Regions from separate parts of the Homo sapiens genome. Here all the other regions are linked to region 3. The links are contacts of gene promoters, found by promoter capture Hi-C in blood cells and fetal thymus (Javierre and others, 2016). All regions are on one chromosome and are shown on one strand. Each heading gives the region's core, a stretch centred on a gene start or on the middle of the fragment in contact. The rest is flanking DNA. Distances are from core to core; before and after follow the strand shown.

Region 1 (2,832 bases), core at 67-2,566, 430 kb before region 3:
AATATAGAATTACAAGAATATTTTTTCCAGATTTTTACATTTATTTTCATATTAGTTTCCTAGATTTTTGTAAACATTGAACACCAGCATTCTTTTTTTTTCTCAGATAAAATGATTTGATACAGGTCACTCAATTATAGGGGAAGCTAGAATCTAGGTTTTTTATTTTTTAAAAAAATCACTTCTGGACCTTCTAAAATATATATTTTTTTCTATTGCTATTCAGCTTCTCTCCCTAATCTTCTAACGTAGATTCCATTTCTACCCCTTCACTTTTTTACCACCCCTATTTATTGTTCTCTTGTAGATTATCCTCCAATTTTCCGTGAAAATAGCAAGCTTTGTTCCTCTATTGATATGTACGATGCCAACGATCAGTGATGAATTCTCTATTTTCAAAGCTGTACTGGATTTATATCTTAGCATAATAGACTTTAGAAGATGCAAAGCCAGGGAGGCAGAAAATACTTAGTGCCTGCTCACCGTGGGTTATAATATACTACCTCTGGAGGATTTAAAGTCCACTGTAGAAGAACAATCACACACAAGTTCACAAAGCAACACATGAATAATGTAAGAGAATCCTTGGGCCAGCTGTGTTCTGTGGAGACCTGGGCAGCTAAATGGACATCCTGAAGGACACTCATTCAGGGGGGTGTCCTGGGGTTAGAGGATAGATGATGAGTTTTGAGTAGGCTTTTCAAAAGATGGGAGGGATAGAAAACGGCTGAGAAATAGATACTGCTGATACATAGTAGATTCTATAATGCCATCGTGCCACATACTGATACAGGTTCATTTTCCTGCGGATTATTCATTAACCAGTCTTCAATGTGACATCTTCACATGTGGAATAATCTGACACTTTTAGCTGGTATCACTAAAAAGTATGTTTTCCTTCAGCATCAACTTGGGTAACTCTTGGTTGTTCCAGTGGCTAGTTATCTAATTGCTGACTTATCCAAGCTGTTTCTCCTGTTTCATCCTCCTTTTACTTGATTTTTAAATGTACAGTCATAGTGGGATGGGGGAAGAAATGCTGCAAGTGATGGTCTTTCATTTATTCTAAAATTGTTACCTATTTGTTTGTAAAGAAGTTGGTGAAGTTTAAAAAGAGTTGGCCAAAATGAGATGTTGGAATTGATTTTGGCTTTATCATTCATTAGTATTTCTTGTCTTAGCATAAAAAATGGCAAGTTGGCTGTTCATAGAGTCAGAGTATCATTAGAACTCCCTGAGGCTGGGGTTTGTGACTTGTATCCCTTGCTACACGTATAGTCCATAGTAGGTGCTCATAACTGCAGGTGGAACAACAGTATGACTAGACCTAGAAGGGAGCTTAGAAATGCAGAAACTAAGATCTAGAAGGGCATTCTCATTAGTGACAGAAGCAGGACTGATCCCAGGTCTCCTTAGCTGTCCACTGTGCTTTCCACCACACCACATTGCCAGAGGCAATGGCAGTGTTAGCTGTATAGAGCCCAACAGCCACGCTGGAGACTGTGCCCAGGGACAGTAAATCAGAGGCAGCTGGGCAACAGAGGGTTCTTGCCAAATTTGTAAAGGTTGGTTGTCAGCAAACCAGAGCAACAGAACCATTTTTGAAAATTTCCATTTAAAGTGGAATTTTCAAAACCATGAACTGCCACCAGGTCACTGAAGTTGATTTTATGGGAAGCCAGGGTTCCGCACAGCTGGTAGAGCAGACTGGTAATGGTGGCTCAGGCTGAGGATTTCTTCAGGCCAGATTGCCTCTGACCACAAGTGCCTAAAATTACTCACTAGGGATTGTTCTCCTAGTCATTTCTTAGGGCAAAAAAAACCCCACTTTCCTCTTAGGACCTTTTGACTGACAGAGAAACTTCTAGAGGAACATTTATTCATCTAATCTTTCTGTAGGCTCTGACTGAGAACTAGCGAAGTAAGCCAGAGGGTGTAGGAGTGATTGCTCAAGGATAAATAGTGACTCTTGCAGAGAAATGATATTTTTATTTCTTCAGAGGCAATAGGCATATCTAAAGCACTGTGAAGATGTCCAGGTAAGTTTATTAAGTTCTGAGGGAAAAGAAGTAGATGAGGAGCAAATGAGAATCTTGGATAAAGGCCTAGACCTTGATCATGGAGGATTTTATTTGTTTTTTGATATTATAGTGGATAATAGCAAAGCAAAATTCATAAGGAGGATCATTTTCCAGAAAAATATGTAGCACTGATTTCTTATGCAATACTTGAGAAAATATCTCTCAGAGAAGATTCTGTATCTAATTCTAGTAAATGGGCCAAATGTAATAAGTAAGCTTGAAGCCGGGTGACTGCTCAGATCTAATTAGATGAGGGCATGATGGTAGATAACATGGAGGTTAGGTAGTGTTTATAGACAGGCTGTCCCTAGCAGGCCTGGCATTAGTTAACTGCTTGAGAGATTCTTTAGCAAAGAGGTAATTGTAGAATACATCGACAAGCAGAGTTTATAGTTGAAATTAATGGCATATTTAATTGTGTAAGCTATTTGGGCCAAATGGCTTCTTTTTATCTTGTAGTTCTTGGATCCTAACATACGGTAGCATTACCCCCACTCTCTCAACCACCCTTACTTTTTTCCTGTAGTGAACACGTATACTTTATTGTTTGTGGAACTTGCCACATGATAAACATTGTCAACAGTGTCAGTGACCATAATCACAGAACAAATTGCTTTTCCACTTGGTCAAATATGTAATAAAATGATTCATCCCAAGAACTCTTCTTCATGGTGACTTGGCTGGGTATTGATCTAGTTCCTGGATCCAACCTCTACCTTACCTCAGGCCCTAAGTTGACCAGGTGGGCCCT
Region 2 (2,864 bases), core at 126-2,625, 470 kb before region 3:
AATAAGTGTGTTGTAGTGTACTTGATGAAAGATGCTCATCGGTTAAAATCTTTACTTTGTTATTATTAATGATTAATGTAATAGCCCCTTGATCACTGCCCCAACTTTGAATCATCTGTCTTCTAACTTCAGGTGATCATTCCTCAGAAAGTTAGTTTCCTAAGGATTATATAATTGATACTTGTAATTACATTATTTATAATCTCAAACTCATATTAGAAATAATGAATAAAAACATTTTGTTTTTCAAGTTCAAACCAAAGGTTCTGAATTTGTTGAAATTATTTAAAATGAATTTATTTGTTAAGACTCACCTCCATTGGTAACTCCCTTTGAAGTCAAGCTGTTCTCTCTGCCATCAACTTTTTAGATCCACCTTGACCATGGCATTGATAACGCTGTGTTGCAATTACTTGACTACACATCTGTTTTGTTAACAAAGCTGTGAGCTGATTAACGGAAGGGGACGTGTCTTCTTCACTGATATCCCTAAATGTTAGTAAGTGTTCTCATTGTTAATAGATGCCAGATAAATGTTTTCCAGATTATCTTGAATTTACTTAAGCATGGAATACTGTATAAAACACATAAGTTATAAAGCATTAGCCATCTGAGATAATTTCTGTGTAACTTGACTTGTAACTGTGACATAGTTTATTTAACATGAACTTTGGTGGTGAGATTTGTACATGAGTGAGGAAATTTAATATATGATTTAAAATATCAGGGATTGAATAAAGGAAAAAGAAACCATCTACAGCTTTTAAGTGTCAATTGGACCAGTCTTTTGGAATCTATCTGTCCATCACAAGCTTGTCTCTGCTTTAGCCCCATCTCAGACATTTAATCCTTGTCTAGAAGGGTAATTAGAAACCATCTAATTTAGGTTATTTCTATTGAGGTAAATTGAGTTAAGATAACTGAAACTTGCCTTGGCATTTAACCTCTTTGGAGTCAGAGCATGGCTCACCCTTTGTGAAAGGCCACGCAGCTGACCTCTCTGCTCCCACACCAGTCTTCTTTCCAAACAGCGACCTGAGAGTGATCATCAAATAGAGCCAAGTGCTATATCAGGTTAACTCCAGGGTATTTTTAATGGATATATAGAGAAGCATCAGAGTGTTATCTGTCAGACACATTTCCAATTCTGAGGGGAAAATTCTTTTGAATTTCACATAAATTCTTTACCTGGAAATACAGATTGATTTATATTGAAGATTACTACTACACAAGAAGTCATAGCTTCTTAGATAACTGTGTATATGTCCAGCATATCTTTAAGAACAGTTTTTGGGCAGTGCCTCATGCCTGTAATCCCAGCACTTTGGGATGCCGAGGTGGGCGGATCACCTGAGGTCAGGAGTTTGAGACCAGCCTGGCCAACATGGTGAAACTCCGTCTCTACTAAAAATAAAAAAAAATTAGCCGGACACTGTGTTGCATACCTGTAATCCCAGCTACTCAAGAGGCCGAGGCAGGAGAATTGCTTGAACCCGGGAGGCAGAGGTTGCACTGAGCCAAGATCCTGCCACTGCACTCCAGCCTGGGCAACAGAGTGAGACTCCGTTGCAAAAACAAAACAAATAAAAACCCCACAGCTTTTGTACAGCTGTTTTGAACAGCTTTTGCAACTTTTTCAACATTTTTGCTGGACATGGTGTTAAGTTTTGAAATATAGAAATGAAAAACACATAGGCTCTCTTTCGTAATTCTAACTCACTGTCAACAAAATGCAGAAAAGCATATTGTAACACCTGGTGATAAGGGCCATAATGAACATATTGTGGTGTTTTTATTTAAAATACCACAGAACTAAACCAATTGGCTATCTATATATAAAAAATGCAATTGGATCCTTACCTCATACCATAAACAAAAATAAATCTCAAGTAAATTAAATGCCTAAATGGGAAACATATACCTTTTAAAAGAAAAGGGAGAAGCTTATATTTTTAACCTCAGGGTAGGGAAGGACTTCCTAAGCAAGTTATAAAAAGCACAGCCAACCTTTAAAATCAAAGATTGATAAATTTGACTAAATTGAAATATAACTTTTGTATAACAAAGGAAACCAGGTACAAAATTAAGATAAGATATTTTTAATTCATTCTACCAGGAAAGGAGTATGTAAAGAATCCGACATAATTAAGAATAACGGGTCCAGTAGAAAAATTAGGCAATGGATATGTGTAGAAAATTCTGAAGGAGAAAATGTAAGCTGCCAAAAGACATTGAAAGATGCTTAACCTTGGTAGTAATCAGAGAAGTAGAAATTAAAACCCATAGGGAAAATCCATTTCATACATATCAAACTGAAGAAAAAGGGAAATTTCTGATAGGATGAAGTGTTGGCAAATACATGGAGCAATGACAAATTCCCATACACTACTTGTAGGAGCACAATTAGATACAGTATTTGGAGAGCAGTTAAATGAAAGAACTTGGGCTATATACATGCTAATATTTAACGCAGTCTCAAAAACACAATGCTGAGAAAGAAAGAACACAGGATATTCATTTCACAAAGCTGGCGAATGTTCTCATATGCTGCTATTCTCTTCTTCCATTGGAACAGTTAGTTCAGCAAGTTATCATGACTAAAGCTGATGAAGGAGTCTCTTACAACCTTAGTTTATCATAATTGGTAGGTACCCACAGGATTTTTATCACTTTACCAGTGCTTTGGTAGGTAAGTCACCAAGAGTGAACACAGAGTGTTCAAGCTTTGGGCTGATTTACAAACAGCCAAAAATGCCTGTATTCTTGGTCAAGCTTTATGGACCCTTCAGCCCTAAAGCCTGGGGCCAGCTCAGGTCTGAGTGACATGCTAGGCCGGGCCCTAGTTTTTTTCCCTGGGCCAGCTG
Region 3 (2,979 bases), core at 288-2,787:
GCTGTAGTTTCCACAATGGAAACAACCCACTTTGCCTGGAGACCCTTAGGTCCGTTCCGTGGGGACCCGGTTTCAACTCTTGGACAGAGGAAGTCGGTAGTCCACCGTGAGCTCAAGGACAGCTAGCTGATCGTCAGGTCCCAACACTTGCCAAGCGTCCCTCACTCCCACCTCGCGCCTTCGTACTTTGGTTACAAAAATCATCTCTCTGCGATTGCACCCCTTTTGAGTAGAGGGTGCCACTGCGTGGGGAGGAGGCGGCGATTCAGCAGGGGGATCACAGGAGCTGACTCCCCGACACCCAGTGCTGCAGAGGCGAGAGGGCGCAGCCGGGCTGAGAGAGCGACGGAGCTCCGAGCTGCAGAGGCCGCCGCGCGGCGGCCCCCGCCAGAGATGAGCGGTGGGGCGGGGGTTCCTCCCTCTTTTCGGGTGAATGAATGATTAGTCAAACACCACCTCCCCGCCCCGGTCCGCCCGAGATTGGAAGGGAGGAGTCTCGGAGCGACTGTTCATTTTTTAAGGACGAAAGGCGTTTGCCTCGGTACGTTTTTAAATCGACCTTGTGTGTGTTTCAACTTCGGTCATCCCTAGTGTCAGGACGCGCAGACAGCTAAGCACAGAACACATCTCTAAGGCCACTTGCCCCTCTGTCCGCTCAGCCCCCTGAGTTCGCTGTCGCGCCCCCGCCAGAGGGAAGCAAAGCAGGGCATGAAAAGTTGCGGGGGCCCTACTGCCCCGGGTGTGTCGCTCCTTCCCAAAGGTGGGGCACCCGGGAGCGAGCAGGGTGGTGGGGCGCCCCTGCGTCCCGTTTGCTGCTCCCTCGCTGGATTGGGGCACCCGGGCCTGAGCGCTAGTGCTGCGGCATCCCCGGGGCTCCCCCAAGAAAGGGAGGAGGAGCCGCGCTCGCCCGGACAGTGGAGACGCGCCTTCTCGGCTCTGGTCCGCGCCCTGGGGCCCTGGCCTCCCTGGAGGGGCTGGGGAACTGGAAGCTGGGCCGAGAGAGTTCCCGCTGCAGCTATCGCGCAGTCCCTCCTGCGCCCGGGCGCCCCCAGCGGGTTCCGGGAGGCGCCCGGTGAGCCCACGTCTGTTGCGGCGGAGCGAGCGCGCTCCGGGAGGGCCGAGAGCCGGCGGGGCTGGCAGGAGGTGAGGAGTGCGGGAGTGGAGGACGCTGCGGCAGCGACAGCGACAGCCCCCGAAACAGTAGCGGCAGCCCGGGCGGCGGCTGAGCGGCAGTGCGCAGTCGGCAGCGCCGCAGCTCCTCTCAGTCTATCTCCGGCTGCCGCAACACCCCTTCCTCCTGGCCCCCTCTCCGGCGCTGAGGGGCTGACTGCTAAGCCACTGCAAGCAACTCCCTCAGGAAAAAAAAAAAAAAAGCCGCATCGGAGGAGCCTGGCCGCAGGACCCCTCCTCCCCGGGCGCCCCCACACCTTGGTCTCTCCCCCCGCCCTCCCTCACACCCCCCCGCCCCCCAGCTCTCGGGCGCCCGCCTCCCTCCTTCGCGGACGGTCTCCCGACACGCCGGCTGAGAGCCCTTTTCGACTGTGAGCTGCGGCAGCTGAGCAGAGGCGGCGGCGCGGGACCTGCAGTCGCCAGGGATTCCCTCCAGGTGACGATGCTCTGGTTCTCCGGCGTCGGGGCTCTGGCTGAGCGTTACTGCCGCCGCTCGCCTGGGATTACGTGCTGCGTCTTGCTGCTACTCAATTGCTCGGGGGTCCCCATGTCTCTGGCTTCCTCCTTCTTGACAGGTAGGGGAGGGGGCGGGAGGGACCGGCCCTCCGGGACGCCGGTTTGGTACCTGGGAAAGGTGGCGCTGGCTTGCCCCGGGGATGGGAGGGTGGGGAGCGCGCACCTTGGCGCTTGCCCTGCGCTGGTCGATGGGGATGAAGCGAAGCCCCGGGAGGGCTGGGAAGGCTGGTGAAGAGGTTGCGGGCTGAGAGGCTGTTGCCTTCAATGTAGTAATAATAGACATTCTTCTATTTGAATTTGAGAAATTATTTTATTTATTTTTAATGCTTTCCTCAACTTTTATTTTAATCTTTCCCTCTGTAGAACTCAGGAAAAAAATTTGTGCAGTTTTCCGCACATCTTCCTTTCTCATCTTTGGGGTTGCAATACATCCACTGTGCTAGGAGTGCTTTTTAAAGCACTGGCTCTCAAGACCTTGAATTTAAAGAAACTATCATTTAAAAAGGGCACTAATAGCCGGATATAATAATTATATGTTTTCAGGCAGGTGAAGACCTCAGCTGCTATTCTGAAGGACATACTTTACTGACACCTGGTGCAGAAAAGAAAATATGGAGTCAATTTCTAAGAGAAGGGAAAAGGGGATTGCGTTTCAAAAAGTGATTTAAACCTAAGACAATGCGAGACAGATTCATAGAAAGGCCTGTTTATTGACTCAGTTCTGAGTTTTGGTCAATTTAAAATCTGCCCCAATTTGAGGGTTTTTTTAAATTTTATTTTTTATTTTTTTCTTTGCGTATGGGGCTGTGTGCTTAGTTGAAATATCTTCATAAAGGAGGAGTGTTATTAAAAATCCAGTGAAATACTTGGAATTGTGCTTAGACCATCTGAGAACAGATAATTTATCCCTATATCATAGTCTTTTCTTTTTTGAACCTGTTTAAATAAAATTATTGAAAATGGAGTTGGGGGCAGAGGTTTTGCTTTGGTGAATTTAATAATTTAAACCACATTAAGAATTCTGAAGTTTGGGTAGAGGTTTCAAAAAGGATTAGTGTAAAAATTTTAAATGTTGAAATCATGCTGCTAAGCTAACTTTAAATGAAACATTTTTCCCCCCTGAATTTCAGGTTCTGTTGCAAAATGTGAAAATGAAGGTGAAGTCCTCCAGATTCCATTTATCACAGACAACCCTTGCATAATGTGTGTCTGCTTGGTAAGTGTGGAGATCAGGTAATATGAACTCAACTGCTCTCTCTGATAAGGTGAATCCATTAAATGTGATAATATAAC
Region 4 (3,224 bases), core at 575-3,074, 490 kb before region 3:
TTCATGTATCCGTCTAATATATATATATATATAATCTTGGCCACAGACCACAGAAGAACTTAAAATGTTGGTGTTTTTTTTTTTTTTTTTTTTGCTTTATATATCTCCAATATAGTGCAGACCCTGTATATGCATACGGGAATAATTATATGCAGAAATGCAGCCTTCTTTTAGCCGGAAAGGATGCCTGGAACATGTGGATAAGCTTGGATATTTGTCTAATGTTAATTGGAATGTTGGTTTTCAGTTGCAGATGCCAAATCTTCATAAAAGTAATTGGATTTAGCTTCCTATTTAGCAAACTACTTCAAATCCCTGAAGTATCCCACATCCGAAACTAATTTTTCTTGATTGTATCAAGTTCAGTCATGAGTAGAACAAGGGTTGACATAGTTTTTTAATATTAAAATATTTCTTGACAAGGTTTCAACACTCTTGCTTGTCCACAAACCTATTGTTAAACACACTCAATACAGATGCAATCTTTGTGTTTTGTGGAGCTATTTTAAAAACTTTGCAAGACTGTCTTCTTGAAGTAAACCACATTTATTCCTTTTTCCTATACATGTAAATTTAAACTTAGATTTTGATCAGATTTCAAGAAACAACGCAAAAATTGTGTATTTTTATTGCTTTTTATATAAACTTATATATGTACTTAATTAAACTTCTATTGATTCATCCTAGGAAATACATTTTATGGTAGTTTTGAGTCTTAAAAGTGTTATTCAGTCTACAAATGTTCAATGTAATATGTAAGAATATTTGGGGATACTAGGGAAAAAACCTCTTAGAATGAATATTATTTGATCATTAAAATTTAGGGATTAAGAGATTCAATTTAAAGGATTGTGCTATCAAATATTTATCAAGCAGCTACTCTGTGTAGGGGTCTTTATGATTAGAGGAGGTATATAAAGATGTTTATAATATGGTGTATAGCCTCAAGGAGCACGATGTTTTATACAGATAATAATTATAAGCATGGACAAATGTTACTCCTTATGGTAGTCATTTACCATTGAGGATGATTATTTAAATATCTGAAAAAATAAAATGGTGCTTAAGTGAAATATGAGCAGATGCATCATACTTTTTTTTTAAACTAAAATGTATTATGTGAAAATCATTTTGGTTGAAATCACTAGTGACTAATAGGAACTGTATAGCTCAACAATAGATTATTCTAATGTATTTTTGTAATAGAACCCATTTTGTTAGAAAAAAATTCATAGCCATGCTTCTATGTCATTTTTTCTTCCAAGACGTCAAACTATTTAGCAGGTAAATACTGCACAATTTAGTTGAATTGGATTTTCAGTCTGTTTTTAGTTCATCTCCAGAGTAGGACTAACTGCCAGACCTAACGTTCACTCCTGTGCCACAGTGCTTAACATAGAGCCTGGTGTGATGCATTCTAGGTGCTCAGTACACATTTGTTGAGCTCTCTGGTCCTGTCCCAAGGGCAACTGGCATTTCTTCAGTGAGTTTCTGAAGGTATGCCTTCTGTTTCTGCCAGTAATTTCCCTGGGACCAGGAAATTATTTTGCTAATGAGATATGCACTTTACAACTTGCATGCCTATGCTTATCATTCCTATTCCTGGAGTTCAGCAGTCATTGCAGCTGCTGTGGAAAGTACTCCTTTGCTTTGACTGTGTTTTAACTATCAAGTTGTTTTGGGACTCCCAGTTTTGTCACTATGGAATTTTTAAGATCCTTTTTTGCTTAAAAAGCAATTGTCATCTTGGAAGAAGAATAGGTCTCATCATCTTTCTGGTGTTAAGTTGCAAACCTTTGAAAGTTTACGCTTATATCATTTGAGGTAAATTACTTGCTATATCCCAATTAGGTATACAGTTCTTTTTAAAGCATGTTTTTCATGAGCCTGAATCATAGGACTAGAAGTGACATTATAAAGTACTTCATCTTTTCAAATTTTGCTTTCTAGCTTGATACCATTCTTCCTTGAGTTAGCCTTTTATTCTTAAAATAAAAAATGATTTTATGTAAAATTTTGAAAGCTGTTGACTACAATGTTTGATATAGTTTAGTAGGGAATGTTATGGAACAATTGGATACTCACGACCTAGAAAAAGAGTCATTTTTTACTATGAGTTAATTTTTCTGGACTCCTCTTAGTTAACACTGGGTAATGAGTTAGATGGTAGTTCTGATAGCCTTCAATCAAGAACTGACTCAGAGAAAATACAGTTTCAATAGTAAAGGTGGAGAAGCAGGCATTCCTACAACTCTCAGTATCTAAAAATCCTTGCAGTCTCACTCCTACTGTCAGCTGTTTTAACTATCAGTTTTATTTAGGTGGAGAAACCACTGGGACCATGAATGATAATTTAATTAACATTCCTTTATTAAGACAGGCTGAGTTTAATTTTTTCTTTTGACTATTCTTTTTAAATAAAGATTATTTTCTTAAGATAGGTTTCTACAATGGTAATTACAAAGTCAAAGAATAGGAGTATTTTAAGGCCTTAATATAAATTAGCTGATTATTACTAATTTTATGAGTTGATGCGGCATAGAAAATGTGCAGGCGATTCTTTAAGTATTCCCTCACACTGTCTTCATTAGTAAGTACATCAATATCACTGTTTTCAGAGCATCTTATGGGGTTTGCCAACAGAATGTGCCTTCCTTCATGGTCTTGTCTTACAAGACCACCTAGCACAGCTGGAGAGAGCCAACAGTTGCGTGTAAAAAAAAAACAGAATGTGGATATGAGGAGCTAAAGACAGGGACTGGCTATTGGCCCCTTGTTTATAGTGAATTAAAGCCAGACCAGGCCGGGCGCAGTGGCTCACGCCTGTAATCCCAGCATTTTGGGAGGCCGAGGCAGGCAGATCACCTGAGGTCAGGAGTTTGAGACCAGCCTGACCAACATGGAAAAACCCCATTTCTACTAAAAATACAAAAAAATTAGCCGGGCATGGTGGTGCATGCCTGTAATCCCAGCTACTCAGGAGGCTGAGGCAGGAGAATCTCTTGAACCTGGGAGTCAGAGGTTGCGGTGAGCTGATAATGCGCCATTGCACTCCAGCCTGGACAATAAAAGCAAAACTCCCTCTCAAAACAAAACAAAACAAAACAAAAAACGAAAACAAACAAAAAACCAAAAACCAAACTGAAGAAGAACCCAGCTTCCCAGAGGAGACTGAGAAGGAGGCAGCCAGCACATGAGTGCTCCTGTAGTGTTATCTTGTTTTG

What was found. The method cuts DNA at HindIII sites, captures the fragments that hold promoters and counts their contacts. A CHiCAGO score of 5 or more calls a contact.
Region 1: a contact is called between a fragment that was not itself captured here and the fragment with the promoter of BMPER in region 3, in 1 of 17 cell types (endothelial precursors). The highest score is 5.2, in endothelial precursors.
Region 2: a contact is called between a fragment that was not itself captured here and the fragment with the promoter of BMPER in region 3, in 2 of 17 cell types (endothelial precursors and megakaryocytes). The highest score is 7.8, in endothelial precursors.
Region 4: a fragment that was not itself captured here is called in contact with the fragment with the promoter of BMPER in region 3 in 1 of 17 cell types (endothelial precursors); the score reaches 6.3 in endothelial precursors.

The regions. Positions count from the first base shown.
Region 1 is chr7:33,470,198-33,473,029 of GRCh38, forward strand. All of the region lies in intron 19 of BBS9 (Bardet-Biedl syndrome 9), which reads left to right. Among named protein-coding and RNA genes, the nearest start is that of FLJ20712, 250 kb to the right of the region's middle. The HindIII fragment of the contact is 1,958 bases long and covers 338-2,295 here.
Region 2 is chr7:33,436,306-33,439,169 of GRCh38, forward strand. The region is part of intron 19 of BBS9 (Bardet-Biedl syndrome 9); the gene reads left to right. Among named protein-coding and RNA genes, the nearest start is that of FLJ20712, 290 kb to the right of the region's middle. The HindIII fragment of the contact is 1,131 bases long and covers 811-1,941 here.
Region 3 is chr7:33,904,002-33,906,980 of GRCh38, forward strand. It overlaps BMPER (BMP binding endothelial regulator), which reads left to right and starts at 1,538. Exons shown (of 15, transcript NM_001365308.1): 1 at 1,538-1,745; 2 at 2,817-2,902. The coding sequence starts at 1,613. The HindIII fragment of the contact is 6,002 bases long and covers 1-2,979 here.
Region 4 is chr7:33,410,939-33,414,162 of GRCh38, forward strand. The region is part of intron 19 of BBS9 (Bardet-Biedl syndrome 9); the gene reads left to right. Among named protein-coding and RNA genes, the nearest start is that of BBS9, 280 kb to the left of the region's middle. The HindIII fragment of the contact is 3,243 bases long and covers 204-3,224 here.